2 separate regions of the Homo sapiens genome follow, and region 2 is linked to region 1. Evidence: promoter capture Hi-C in 16 types of primary human blood cells and fetal thymus (Javierre and others, 2016). All regions are on one chromosome and are shown on one strand. Each heading gives the region's core, a stretch centred on a gene start or on the middle of the fragment in contact. The rest is flanking DNA. Distances are from core to core; before and after follow the strand shown.

Region 1 (4,030 bases), core at 949-3,448:
GAAGCAGATCTGGAGGCAGGGTCCGTAGAGTTTGTTCTGTGGCGTTTGTTCATCAGGCCCCTGCAGGGGTTCCCTGTCAGCATGCCACCAGGCTGGCCAGAGGGTGGGCCAGGCTTCCTCTTCTTACCCTCATAGAGGAGAGGAAGTCACCTCTGTGAGGGGAAGGCCAGACCCCCAGGGCCATGGTGGGCAGTGTGGAGGGAGCTTCAGTCCCACTCACTTCCATGCACAAGGCCTGCCAAGCACACAGCATAGGGTCCGCAAACATGCTCACCACGCTGCCACCCCCTTCCCGTGTTCTACTCACCTCTGAGCCCCACCCTAACCTGGAGTGCTCGCCCGGTGTGCTCGCCAGGGGTGTGCAGCGAGACAGCACTGTCCACTTTCTAGGCCTTCCCAGGGCTGACATGAGGCTGAAGGTGCATCCCCGCCCTGGCACATGTGCCCTTGCTCTCGGCTGCTGGGGAATGGGTCCCACAGCGCCTCCTCCCAGCACAGGCAAAGGCATCTCCTTTTGGGCGCCCACCTGGCTAGCAGAGCACAGGTAAGATGGCTCCAGCAATGGTGGGCTAACTACCGTGTGTCCAGCTGTACTGCAAGCTTCCAGAAGTCAGAGACCCTCAGCCACTACCCAGGTGTTCAGCCTTGGGCAAGCTACCTGGCCTTTCCAAGCCTCTGCCTCCTCCCCTGTAAAAGAAGGTGACAGCCTTGCCCTTTCCCGGCCTCCTGCAAGGACTTCCTGGACCTGACCTCACAGGGTGGCAAGCGTATCCTCCACACCAGGCCTCCCCGGAGGCACAGGGCACATTGACGGCATTGCCAGCAGCCTCGTTACTGCAGGAGCGTCATGCTCCTCATCTCCAGCATCTTCAAGCATGTTGGGCACATAGCAGGTCTCAGAGAACATTTTTCTGGAATCATTGAGCCAAGTACTTACCATGTAAGGTGCTAAAAAGCACTAGGAATGAAGCAGAAAGCTCAAGGCTGATGTCGATGTCACAGTAACCTGGGACCGCAGGCCCCCAGGGCCACAGGAGGAACTGCTGGCTGTCCTTGAGCTGAGGCAGGGTCTTGGTAAGCTCACGAGTCCTCTATCCCCAAACCATGCACAGATGTCTGCTGAGTCCCTGCTGTACCCCAGGCACTGCTAGGAGCTGGGCTGTGGCCGTGAGACAGACAAGCCCAGACTCTGCCTCCGGGGAACATGGATGCTGGCTGGCCACAGAGGTGCCCATACAGAGGGCACCATGCAGTGTCTGCTGGGGACAGGCAGGAGGAGAAGGAGCATTTCTGGCTGAAGTGAACAGTCCACATGAGGCTTCTGCGGGGTGAGCGGCCAGTGGGCGTAGGCTAGTGTGGACTCTGTAGGCTTGCTAAGAGACCCGCAGGTGGTGTCTGGAAGTATAGGAAGCTTCCAGAGGCTTTTCAGCCAGGAGCGATGCAACCAGTTTGGGCCCCAAAGGCTCTCCAGGTTAGGGTTCGAGCTAGGGGCTAGGGAGAGCCAGGGCCCAGGAGGCAGCCTTGGGTGGCCTAGGAGAAAGAGGCGCTGAACCCAGGAGAGTCCCCAAGAACCCGGGAGAGTCCCCGAGGGCACAACCCCAGCACAGCACGGGGTTCACACACAGCAGGCAGGAGACAGTCCTGAGCATTGAGTGATGATTTAAGTGGTGGACATGGACTTGGTGGCCTGGGGACTGTAGATAGGGAAGAGAAAAGGGCCCGGGTGGAGCTGGGAAGAGCTCCAGTATTCGATGCCAGGCCAGTCGTGGCATTAACTCCTGGCAAAGTATCCGATGCCAGGCTGGCCATGGTATTGACTCCTGGCAAAGTGGCCCAACAACCCCCTTCTCCCCTCTGAGCAGCCGTCTCCCTGTCTGAAAAGTCACCAGGCTGGATGGCATCAACTCTACAGGCCTTCCTGCTCCTCTGAGGGCAGGTGACTCCTCGTGGTTTGACACGGACCGGGAATCACATAGCCCTGGCTCAGTGAATGGGCGAACTTGGCTAAGTCGCCTAACCTCTTTGAGCCCCAGCTTCCTCATGTGTAAAACAGGATAATAGCAGTGTCGCGGGGGATGGCCCTGGGCGTGGGGTGAGGGCCATTTCTGCCCTGTGGTCACTCGGGAGGACCTGTGGGGCGCTGGCAGAGCAGTGCCACCAGGGGGAGGCAGAGAGCCGCCTCTGAGTCGGCCAAAGTAACAGGTGCACGCTTGCCAGGTGAGGTTGCTCCCATCTGTCGTCTCAGCATTTTGGGAGGCCAAAGTGGGAGGATCACTTGAACCTAGGGGTTTGAGACCAGCCTGGGCAACATAGCAAGATTCCATCTCCACAAAAAGAAAAAAAAGTAAAGTTATACACTTTTCTTTTTTTTTTTTGAGACCGAGTCTCACTGTATCCCCCAGGCTGGAGTGCAGTGGTGCAATCTCAGCTCACTGCAACCTCCTCCTTCCGAATTCAAGCAATTCTCCTGCCTCAGCCCCCCCAAGTAGCTGAGATTCTAGGTGCCCACCATGGTGCCCAGCTAATTTTTGTATTTTTAGTGGAGAGGGGGGTTTCACCAGTTGACCAGGCTGGTGTGGAACTCCTGACCACAGGTGATCCTCTCGCCTCGGCCTCCCGAAGTGCTGGGATGACAGGTGTGAGCCACCACGCCTGGCCGTAGTTATAACTTTTCTAAGGTTCATTTTATTAAATGGAAAAATGCCAAACAGAACGACAAAGGCTGTGGTAGAATGTGCACGTTTGTGTGGACCCAGGGCACATTTTCACCAGAAAATCCCGTGCGATAGAGTGGAAGATATACCAAAAGCCACAGCAAATATCACGCGTGACTCCGCAGAAAATTATAGATTCCTAACAAACACTGAGAGTGTGTCCTGTGCTGTAAGGTCCAGGGATGGGCCACAAGTTCAAGGTTGTGTGAAGAACAACGGAAACCCACCTCTGAGGCCCTGGGCACCTGGCACCTGTCGTGTTGGGCATGAATAAAGCTTCGCAGCTCAGTCCTGCAATCTCCATGAGCCTAGACTTGTCCATCTTAAAATGTAGACGGTTAGGACACCTGCTGAAGGGGCCGCCAGGCTTAACTGTGCCAACACGGCATGCAGGTGGAGAACAAAGAATGCGATTGAAAACCTCCTAACGATAACAAGAGCTGTTCCCTTTCTGAGCCCTCACCCCATGCCCAGCGTGCACCAGCAGCTCACCATCGCAGGCCCAGGGCCAGCACCCAGGTCCCCACTTGACCCACGAGGACACTGAGGTACAGCAACAGCCAGGACAGCAGCCGCCAGGTGGAAAGCAAAGACACAAAGCAGCCAGATCGGGAGTCACGTCGGGGCAGGCGACTGAGGCGCCACCCAGCCACCTTCAAGATGCAGATTGAAGAACAGCCTTTCCCAAAGCTCGCTCACTCACTGACCCTGCGTCTTCGTCTGCAAAGCCTGAGTAACGTGGGAGGCCCTGCAACGCCCCCTCTGAGAGACCTCCACTAACGCCAGCACTTTTTTTTTTTTTTTTTTTTTTTTTTTTTTTTTTTGTGAGAGTGTCTTGCTCTGTCGCCCAGGCTGGAGTGCAGAGGCATGATCTCTGCTCACTGCAAGCTCCGCCTCCCAGGTTCACGCCATTCTCCTGCCTCAGCCTCCCAAGTAGCTAGGACTACAGGCGCCTGCCACCACGCCCGGCTAATTTTTTGTATTTTTTAGTAGAGACGGGGTTTCACCGTGTTAGCCAGGATGGTCTCAATCTCCTGACCTTGTGATCCACCCGCCTCAGCCTCCCAAAGTGCTGGGATTACAGGCGTGAGCCACCACGCCTGGCCAACGCCAGCACTTTCAACGCACCGGGACCAAGCTGGACCCGGTTTTGTTTTGAAACACTTTTACTTTTGCAGACGAATACGTCGGTGTCCCACCAGGAACCGCTGCTGGTGGATGCTCACCACGGGAAACAGCCGCGTGACGCTCCCCCTTGTCTGCCTCTGCCCAGTGCTGCCCCCTCCAGCAGAGCTCCTCATGTGTGGTTCGTGGAT
Region 2 (3,794 bases), core at 385-2,884, 250 kb after region 1:
CCGGCTTCTTCCCGTCTTTCCTCAGGATCACCTCCTGGGACTGGCACCCCTTCAACCTGGGGCCAAGGCGGGGGCTCAGGCTGCAGACCAGGGAACCCCTCCTCCCGCCTGCCAGCCACCGAGCCCCACCCACACGTCTCGGTCCCGCCCCTGCTCCCGTGGGACCCGGGAAGGTTGGGGCCCCAGGTCCCCAGTTTTTTGCTTCACTATCCAACTCGTGTCAATCTGAGGCTCTGTGGTTTGAGGATTTTCCAATTCGGACTGGGGCCTGTCCCACGGCACGAGAGAAACTCCCAACACCCACCCGTGTGGGGCCCAGGAGCTGCAAGCGGCTTCCTCCCAACACCTACCCATGTGGGGTCCCAAGGTCTGCAGGCAGCTTCCTCCCAACACCCACCCATGTGGGGTCCCAGGGGCTGCAGGTGGCTTCCTCTGAGTTTAGGGGGAGGAAGTGGGGGGACGGTTCTTGTGGAACTTCCAGACAGACAGGCTCCTCCCAGACTCCTTTCCAGCCCCGAGGCAGCTCCCTCCTCCTGGAAGGGGAGACCCTTGCCTGGGGGGCGCTGCCCACTCACCGTCTGAAGGCGAGGAGCACGCGGAGCTGGCCCACTTTGTTCACCTTTACCACGGACGCCCCCAGCTTCCTCTTGTCCCTGGCCGGCAAGAATCCCTGGGCATCAGTGGCAGTGGCCAGAATGTACCAGAACCCTGAAAACTGCGCAGCGGATGTGTGGGCGGGGACAGGAGCTGCCACCGGGGGCTGTCCCCACCCCCGAGGTTCCCAGCTAGAGAACCCAGGAGACAAATGACCCTTCTGTGAGCCGGAGTCCCAGCTCCGCCCAGGTGCCGCCTCGGTCCCGGCCACTCAAGCCCTGGCCACTGGAGCAGGGCTGCAGAGAAGCAGGTGCCCGGCTGGTCAGGGACCCCAGGCAGCAAAGGGCTGGGCTGTGGGCGCCAGCAGGTGGGAGGCCCCCTACCTCAGAGGCCCCGGCTCCTTCCCACATGGCCTCCTGGGGGCTGGGTACTGCTCGGCCACTTCCCTTCCTGCCGGCCCCCGGCCCCCAACTCTGCCTGCTGCCAACCCTAGCGCCCTGGGCACCGCCGTGCCAATGAGTGCTGCTCCCACGGCTCACTCAGCAGGTGCCCGGGCCCTCCCGCTACAGAATATGCCCCGCTTGCTCCACACCCACTCTGCACTCTGGGCGTCTCCCGACCTCCTCGGCCACAGCTCTCTGGGCCCCTCCACCCTGGCCCTCCCTGACCCCCCTGGGCCCCCGAACCCCCTCGAGGCTCCCTGCCTTTGCCCTGCAACTTGCGGGGCCCCTGTGCTGGAGGCTGCAGTGGGAGAGGCCAGGTGGGCAGCGCCCGTGCCTGGAACTGCTGGTAGCCCTGCTCCTGGGCGGCTGCCGGGAGACTGTGCAGGAGCCTGCTCCAGCTCCAGAGCCGGCGCCCGGCTCAGGGACCAGTGGCACATGGCTCACCTTGTTCCAGTTGAGGGCGTGGGACTCCCTGGGGTACCACTCCTGCACCTGGGACCCTGCAGCCAGCACTAGCACCAGCACCAGCACCAGCGCCAGCACCAGCAGCCCCTGCCTCATCTTCACCCTCCTCCCTCAGCCGCCAAGGCCAGTGTTTAAACCTCTCTGGAGCCGCCAGCCTGTGTCGGGAGAGGAGGGAGGGGAGGGAGCGGAGGGAGGCAACAGGTGTGGCCTTGGGCTCTGCTACCCTCTCCCCGCCCAGGGACCACCCCCAGACACTCCAGGGAAGCCGGCACTGCCCCACCTGGTGGTCACTGCTGGCCTGGGCTGCCCTGGCAGACAGAGGCCCCTCTGAGGCCCCAGGACCCTCCTGCCCTCAGTGCCCGGCCTGGGGTCACTGTGTGTGCCCCTGAGACTCATTAAGCCCTGGCCCTCATCCTAGACCTCCCAGGTGACAGGCAAAGGGCTGGTCGTGGCCCTTCTGGGGCAGATGTGGACATGGTGAGCTCTGCGCGGCAGCCACACACACAGCCCCCACCACCTTCTTGAGGGCCTGGCACCAAGCACCTGAGCAGGTGCCGAAGGGCGGGCCGGGGCTGTGTGCCCGTGCCCATGAATGTGTGTGTGTGCATGTGTGGGTGTGTGCTCACATGTGCATGCGTGTGCATGCCCAGCCTTGCAGGTCAAGGCATCTGTGTGCACCTCGCCTCACTCCAGCATGAGCCTCACACAGTCCCCAGCCCCCCATCCAGCCCCGAGACCCCCATGGCCTGTGCTTCTCCCAGGACGGCAGGCAGCGCAGCCCCCCACACCCATCAGAACACAGGAGGACCTGCAGGCTCAGGTGTCTGGGGTCCCTGCCCCTGCCCAGGCAAGAGACACAACCCCAGCCCAGAGAAGCCTGAGCCTGGGGAGTCAGGGGCTGCTCTGAGCCCCACCAGCCACCTCTCTCTTGTCCTGGGCAGTCCTTGGAGCCTCTGGCACCCCAGCTGCGGTCCTGGTGGAGCTCACTGCTGGCTTCCTCCCAGGCTGTGTCCTCTGACCAGCCCCCGCCTCTGAGCCCGGGCCTGAGTTTGGGTGTCTGAAGACCCAGAGGGGCTCTGGCAAGGGACTGGGTTGGGCACGCGTCTTCTTTGCAGCTGGCTCTATGGTTCTGTGGCTTGGCCCTTGGTGACGACCCCCGCCATCCTCCCCGCAATTCCCCGGCTGGCCCCCAGTCAAAAGCATCCTTGGTTTGCTGTGGAATCGCTTTATTCTGAGCTGGTGCTGGGCCCCGGGAGCCGCTGAGCGAGGTGGGTGGACACTGGCCGAGGTCACAGGACCCTGTGGGCGCCATCCCTACTGGGGACGCAGCACTCACTGAAAACCAAGAGGAGTGTGAGGGGGCCCAGCCCACCATGGAGGCTCCTCCACACCCTCAGCTGCCTTAGAGACAGTGGAGCCATGAACCCCGTGGGCTTGGGCAGAGGGTCCTCCCACCCACTGTGCGTAGGGTGGCCTCCCCCACCCCCTTCCCCCAAGAGAGCCCAGGGTGAGGCTCAGGATGGCGGCTTACCAGAAGGATCTTGTGAGCACAGGTGACTAGAAGGGGAGGCAAGACTGGCTGTGAAAAAGGACTGAGCCCCCCAGCACCCCAGGGCCCCACCCACAAGACTCGCCTGCCGTGGGGACAAGACCCCCAGGCCTGACTTTGGGCAGGGGCAGGTGAAGACCCCCTCAGCCTGCCTGACTCCTTCAGGGCGACTGAGTCAGGCAGAAGCCAGAATCAACCCCAGGGTCTCTGTCACCCCATCACGCCCTGTGGGCTCCAGAACTTGCCCCAAGCCTCCCCCGAGGCTGCTCCGGTGGACACTCACGGTCCTTCTGCAGCTGGGCCTGCTACTGTGACAGGAAGCCCAGGCTCCTGCTCCACTTGGTGAAGAGCCCCATGGCCTCCTGGCTGGCTGTCTCCGTCAGACCTGGGGGCACCAGGGCAGTGCAGGGGGAAGCAACCTCTGAGAGCTGGGGAGGGGCCGGGGAGGGGCTGGGAAGGGTCAGGAAGGAGGCCACCTGCCCTGGGATGCTGGCCCCGGTCCTTCCAAAGCCACCTCCAGTGCAGCGAGCCTCAAGGTGGGGGAACTTGGCCTGCATGTGGTCCTGTGCGGCCCACCCACCACACAGCTCCCCACATGGCCCCCGAGCGGCCCACTCACCACACAGCTCCCCATGTGGCCCCAAGCGGCCCACTCACCACACAGCTCCCCACATGGCCCCCGAGCGGCCCACTCACCACACAGCTCCCCACGCGGCCCCCAAGCGGCCCACGCACCACACAGC

The links. Contacts are between HindIII fragments. The CHiCAGO score rates a contact against its expected background, and 5 or more counts as called.
Region 2: the fragment with the promoter of LCN10 here is called in contact with a fragment that was not itself captured in region 1 in 1 of 17 cell types (naive B cells); the score reaches 6.4 in naive B cells.

The regions. Positions count from the first base shown.
Region 1 is chr9:136,486,652-136,490,681 of GRCh38, forward strand. No RefSeq gene overlaps it. Among named protein-coding and RNA genes, the nearest start is that of C9orf163, 5.2 kb to the left of the region's middle. RefSeq lists a silencer at 2,210-2,259. The HindIII fragment of the contact is 1,579 bases long and covers 1,410-2,988 here.
Region 2 is chr9:136,741,306-136,745,099 of GRCh38, forward strand. It overlaps LCN10 (lipocalin 10), which reads right to left and starts at 1,635. Exons shown (of 6, transcript NM_001001712.3): 1 at 1,482-1,635; 2 at 576-715; 3 at 1-56. The coding sequence starts at 1,598. It overlaps LCN6 (lipocalin 6), which reads right to left. Exons shown (of 7, transcript NM_198946.3): 5 at 3,335-3,436; 6 at 3,034-3,059; 7 at 2,712-2,837. The coding sequence ends at 3,357. RefSeq lists a silencer at 1,040-1,139. The HindIII fragment of the contact is 7,084 bases long and covers 1-3,794 here.